2 separate regions of the Homo sapiens genome follow, and region 2 is linked to region 1. The links are contacts of gene promoters, found by promoter capture Hi-C in human tissues and cell types (Jung and others, 2019). All regions are on one chromosome and are shown on one strand. The core of a region is centred on a gene start or on the middle of the fragment in contact, and the rest is flanking DNA. Distances in the headings are between cores, read along the strand shown. Region 1 holds the start of METTL2B (methyltransferase 2B, tRNA N3-cytidine). Region 2 has its middle 73 kb from the start of METTL2B.

Region 1 (2,881 bases), core at 79-2,578:
CTACAGAAAGAATTTACAATGGAATAAACAATTACTGGCTGGGCACGGTGGCTCACACCTGTAATCCCAACACTTTGGGAGACCGAGGTGGGCAGATCATTTGAGGTCAGGAGTTCAGGACCAGCCCAGGCAACATGGTGAAACCCCATCTCTACTAAAAATACAAAAATTAGCCGAGTGTGGTAGCGCGCACCTGTAATCCCGGCTACTCAGGAGGCTGAGGCAGGAGAATCACCTGAGCCCAGGACATGGAGGTTATAACGAGCTGAGATCCAGCTACTGCACTCCAGCCTGGGAAACAGAGCAAGACTCCGTCTCAAAAAAAAAAAAAAAAAAGTACTAATTACCAATGTGCTATGTCTAGCACTGCACTAACCCTTTCCTTTTTTAAAAAAATTCATCTTTCCCTTTATTCTGACATTATGACATTAAATAAAGTCCAAGAGATATTGGGCTGGTCCTTGTTTGGTCTCTGCCCTTTCCTTCTTTTCCAAGTGGTATTCATCATGCTTCTCTTGGAAGTCTTCTCAAATAACCTTATGTCTATAACATACTTTCTTCTAGATTCTTTTGAGAGTCTATTTGTATTAGATCTAGAAATAGAAATGTAAGGCTGAAATGTATTACTATGACAAACTGTATGTGTGTATTACAATCTTAATTGTGCTAATAAGGATAATTATAATAAATATAATATGGATGATTCAAAAAGGTTAGATGGTTATAATTAAAAAAAAATTGTCCTTGGATATTCCATTTGATTTGCTAAGCCTCGTGTTCTCTAATTTCATATATCCATCTCCCCCACCCCAACCAAAATATATATACACACTGTGTATACATATACACCCACACTATGAAGAGCTGACTATAGAAGCTGGAAATTGCCCTGTTTCTTTCCGCTGCTTGCTACCTTCTTCAGTTCTGGACATCGGCTCCGCAGTGGAACTAGGTAGCCTCAACTCTTATAATGATTCAAGATTATTCCTGTTTTACAACTTGAGGGAAGCTGGGGAACCTGTTAAGAGGATCCCAGCAATGAACTGGGCCTCAAGTGGAATGTCTCCCACTTTCTGCCTAACCTGCACGTCCATCAGCACCTCATCAATGAGATACGACTCCTCCGGGGAGAATTTCCCCCTGCCTGGTCCCCTTCCCTAGAGAGCCCTTCGCCAACCCTGGGAAAGCCCCAAACGACAGCTCCCGAGCGCCACCCGGACCAGACTCCAGGACCGCCCTGTCCCGCCACCCTTTTTCCCGCCCAGACTCCACGTCTTCTGAAAGAGGGCGTGGCCCGCAGGAAGTTCTCGCGTTACGGAAAGTGAAGTGTTTCCGGCTCCGGTGTCATGGCCGGCTCCTACCCTGAAGGTGCACCTGCAATCCTCGCCGATAAGAGGCAGCAGTTCGGAAGCCGGTTCCTGAGCGATCCGGCGCGCGTCTTCCACCACAATGCCTGGTAATCACCCTGCCCCCTCGCCCGGCCTGTCGCTGGCCGTCTGTCCCGCCGCCTCGGAGCATTCCGAAAAGCCCCTGACCGCCGGCCACGAGTCAAGCTGCCCTACCCGAGGCACTCTCCAAGGGGAGAGAAACTCCTAGGCCAGCGACTCACCCTGCTCGCAGCCAGGACGTGAAGCCCCTAAGCTGCCCGTTTGATTTTCTCAGGGACAATGTGGAGTGGTCGGAAGAGCAAGCCGCGGCGGCGGAGAGAAAAGTCCAGGAGAACAGTATCCAGCGGGTGTGCCAGGAGAAACAAGGTGCGCTTAAATGGGCTCTCGTTGGTATCAACAGCCAGCGTACTGCCGAACGCGCCCTCCCGGAGAGGCCAGGGAACCGCGGCCGCCCACATCCTTTATTCCTGGCCTGATGCGGATCTCAGGAGTAGAGCAGGACAGGGAGGGGATGAGCAAGGAGGGAAAAGGGCTGCATTGTAACAAAATCTTAAGTCGTAGAGGGTTTTTTTAATATATAGTTTTACTTTGGAGGAGGGTAATTTTGTCTTTAATTATGTTGAGTAGATCCACGTTGATATGGCTAGCCAATGACAACTGTGTGGTCACGCGATCATCTTAGAACCTGTACTTTTTACATGATTTGCATTTTCCATGAGGAGATGTTTCCATTGAAGCTTCATTTAAGTGATTAGATTCTAAATATTGTTGGGAGGGGGGCTAATGACTGGTGACTGTGTGTCTATTACTTGTGTGATGGTTATGAGAATTTAGGGCTTCAGTCAAGGAAAGGTGGATGCAGCAGAGTGGAGATAAGTCTGGCCAAAGAAAAGGAGGCCCCTGCTTGAGAGGTTGATGATTTCACTGCAAAATATCCCTAGATAGTAAAACTAGGACTGATTGTTCCAGACAATTGAAGATAGCACTACAAATTTAGTACCTGCTGAAAGAGTTCTGTACAACAAAAAGGTTCCAGTTACAAAACATTCACCCTGCATAGTCTGACAGCAACTAGATCAAAGCAAGTTAATAGTTAAAAGGGATTTTGAAAATCATGTGGTTCAATATTCTCTTTTTATAGTTAAAGACACTTGGACCACAGGACATTAAGTGCTTTTCCCAGAGGTAAGCAGTCAGTAGTAGCAGTAGTGGAACTAAAATCCTGTTTCTTAGGGAGTCTTGGTTGATTCAGCAGGTGAGTTGTGAGTTGTTAACACACTTCTTAGTGGATTCCAACTTCCATTGTCACCGTCCTGCTCAATTTGTTAGGTTTTTATTCTTTCTACTACACTAGTCAAGGCCCCCTGAACTGGCAAGAGCAGTAAACTGAAATCTGGGACTGTCATGATCACCTTAAAAACAGCCTTCATTTAAACTGTCCATACTTTTTTTTTTTTTTTTGGAGGCGGAGTCTCGCTCTGTCACCAGGCTGG
Region 2 (3,072 bases), core at 463-2,962, 73 kb after region 1:
ACCTCAAGGGATCTGCCTGCCTTGGCCTTTCAAAGTATTGGGATTACAGGCATGAGCCCCTGCGCCTGGCCAATATTTTTGATAGAGAAGGAGTTTCACCACGTTGCCCAGGCTGATCTCGAACCCCTGACCTCAGGTGATCCACCCATCTCAAGTGATTCACCTGCCTCGGCCTCCCAAAGTGCTGGGATTACAGGTGTGAGCCACCGTGCCTGGCCCAGATGCATTGTATAGTCTTGAGGCATTTATAATCAGACAAACAGGGACTCAGATGCCTATGGCACATAGCTGAGGATGGACATGCTGATGGGAAGGTATTATGAGCCCAGAATAAGGGAGTATAATTAACTTGTTCATTGTGTATTGCTCAGAAAGCAGAATTAAGATTACTGTAGATTGGCTGGGTGTGGTGGCTCATGCCTATCATCCTAGCACTTTGGGAGACCGAGGCAGGTGAATCACTGGAGGTGAGGAGCTTAAGACCAGCCTGGCCAACATGGTGAAACCCCGTCTTTACTAAAAAATACAAAAATTAGCTGGGCATGGTGGTGGGCACTTGTAACCTCAACTACTTGGGAGGCTGAGGCAGGAGGATCACTTGAACACGGGAGGCGGAGGTTGCTGTGAGCCAAGATTGCACCACTGCGCTTCAGCCTGGGTGACAGAGCAAGACCCTATCTCCAAAAAAAAGGGAAACGATTACTGTAGATAAACAACCTCATGGCCGGGCATGAGGTGGTGGTGAGCCAAGATCACACCATTGCAGTCTAGCCTGCGCAACAGGAGGGAAACTCCATCTCAAAAAACAAAAAACTCAGAACAATTTTGATACAATATTATTAGGAATAAATTAAAGAATGATGAGTACAGGATAGCTTGGTTTTGAAGCTTAGCAAAAGAGTTTAGAGTCCAGGGCAGAGGCCTTTTTTATTTTTTATTTTTATTTTTAGATAGGGTCTCGCTCTGTCACCCAGGCTGGAGTGCAGTGGCGCAGTCTTGGTTCACTGCAACCTCCGCCTCCCAGGCTCAAGTGATCCTCCCGCCTCAGCTTCCCAAAGTGATGGGATTACATGCGTGAGCCACCACGCCTGGCCGAGACGTGTTTTTAAATAATTAATCTTGATTAGTTTCCTTGAAGTCTAGGTATGTGGTAAAAAATTTTAAAAATTATATATATATATATTTTTTGGAGACGGAGTCTTACTCTGTCACCCAGGCTGGAGTGCAATGTCATGATCTCGGCTCACTGCAACTTCCACCTCCCAGGTTCAAGCGATTCTCCTGTCTCAGCCTCCCGAGTAGCTGGGATTATGGGCGCACACCGCCATGCCCAGCTAATTTTTTTTTTGTTTTTTAGTAGAGACGGGGTTTCATCGTGTTGTCGAGGCTTTGGTCTCGAACTCCTGAGCTCAGGCAATCCACCCACCTCTGCCTCTCAAAGTGCTGTGATTATAGGCGTGAGCCACCATGCCTGGCCCCAAAATTAAAATTTTTTACTAGTTAATATATAGTACACAATTCAGAATCTTTCACAGATATACAGTGAAACATCTCTTCTACATTTCTCCCTTATCCACCTGGTTTCCTTCCTAGAGACAACTGTTATAAAGTTTCTTATATTTGAGAGATATATCTGCAAATACTTTTGTATATTCAACCCTTCCATTTTTAAAAAATGCAACTATATTATATAAACTATTGTGCATTTTGCTTCTTGTGCTTAAGATATTTCAGGAATTGTTTTACATTCATACATATAGAGCTTCCTTGTTCTGTTTTTCAAGGCTGCTTTGTATTTCATTGTATGGCTGAACCGTTTCCTGTTGATGGACACTTAGATGGACAGCAGTGTTTTGTTGATATAAATAGTGCTATAGTGAATAATCTTGTACATAATGTCATTTAACACACATTCAGATACATTTACGGGATAAATCCCTAGAAATGGAATTGCTTTTTTCAAGGATATATGCATTTGTAATTTTAGTAGATATGGCCACATTCTTCTCCATGGAGAGGGGGAATTTGTCTCCCATGGTCAAGTATGGCAAGGGGTGGACAGGCATCAGGGTCCTTGAACTCTGTGAAATGATAGGTAAATATTTGTGTGTGTATATACATGGATGTATATTTTTCTTTAGAAAGAGTCCATGGTTTTATTACGTTCTTAGAAAGTTGTTTGGGGCTGGGCACGGTGGCTCATGCCTGTAATCCCAGCACTTTGGGAGGCTGAGGCAGGTGGATCACGAGGTCAGGAGATTGAGACCATCCTGGCTAACATAGTGAAACCCCGTCTCTACTAAAAGTACAAAAAAAATTAGCTGGGCATGGTGGGGGGCGCCTGTAGTCCCAGCTACTCGGGAGGCTGAGGCAGGAGAATGGTGTGAACCCGGGAGGCAGAACTTGCAGTGAGCCAAGATCGCACCACTGCACTCCAGCCTGGGCAACAGAGCGAGACTCCATCTCAAAAAAAAAAAAAAAAAGTTCTTTGGCCAGGCACAGTGGCGAGGCCCAGCACTTTGGGTGGCCAAGGCAAGAGGACCATTGAGCCTAGGAGTTTGAGACCAGCCTGGGCAAAGTGGTGAAACCCCATCTCTACAAAAAATACAAACAATTAGCCGGGCATGGTGGCATGTGCCTATAGTCCCATCTGCATCTGTCCAGGAGGCTGAAGTGGGAGGATCACCTGAGCCTTGGAGGTTGAGGTCAAGGCTAGAGTGAGTTGTATTTGCACTTCTACACTTCAGCCTGGGTAACAGAGTGAGTCCCTGTCTCAGAAAAAAAAAAAAAAAAAATTCTGTGACTCAAAATAGGTTAAAGAAACCACTGACTTGTAGTTAGTTGACCTGAATTAAGCACACTGCTTTGTTTTTCTCTACACAGTATTTTTCTCTTACAGGAAGTATTTGAGCAGAAGCTATGTACATAATTATTAGAGATGTTGTGTGGAAAGTCATTGTGGAAGAGACTGGACTAAATCTAATTCCCAACCTTTTACTGTTATTCCTCCCACTCTTGAGACCATGTTTTAAAAGGCTTTTTCCCCCATTATTAGACTGAATTTATTAAGCA

What was found. Contacts are between HindIII fragments. The study calls those that stand out against the background at their distance.
Region 2: a contact is called between a fragment that was not itself captured here and the fragment with the promoter of METTL2B in region 1, in 3 of the 25 tissues and cell types used here (H1 embryonic stem cells, spleen and stomach).

Annotation. Positions count from the first base shown.
Region 1 is chr7:128,475,420-128,478,300 of GRCh38, forward strand. It overlaps METTL2B (methyltransferase 2B, tRNA N3-cytidine), which reads left to right and starts at 1,329. Exons shown (of 9, transcript NM_018396.3): 1 at 1,329-1,456; 2 at 1,663-1,754. The coding sequence starts at 1,347. RefSeq lists enhancers at 1,166-1,215, 1,436-1,605. The HindIII fragment of the contact is 14,580 bases long and covers 1-2,881 here.
Region 2 is chr7:128,548,389-128,551,460 of GRCh38, forward strand. No RefSeq gene overlaps it. Among named protein-coding and RNA genes, the nearest start is that of METTL2B, 73 kb to the left of the region's middle. The HindIII fragment of the contact is 6,373 bases long and covers 1-3,072 here.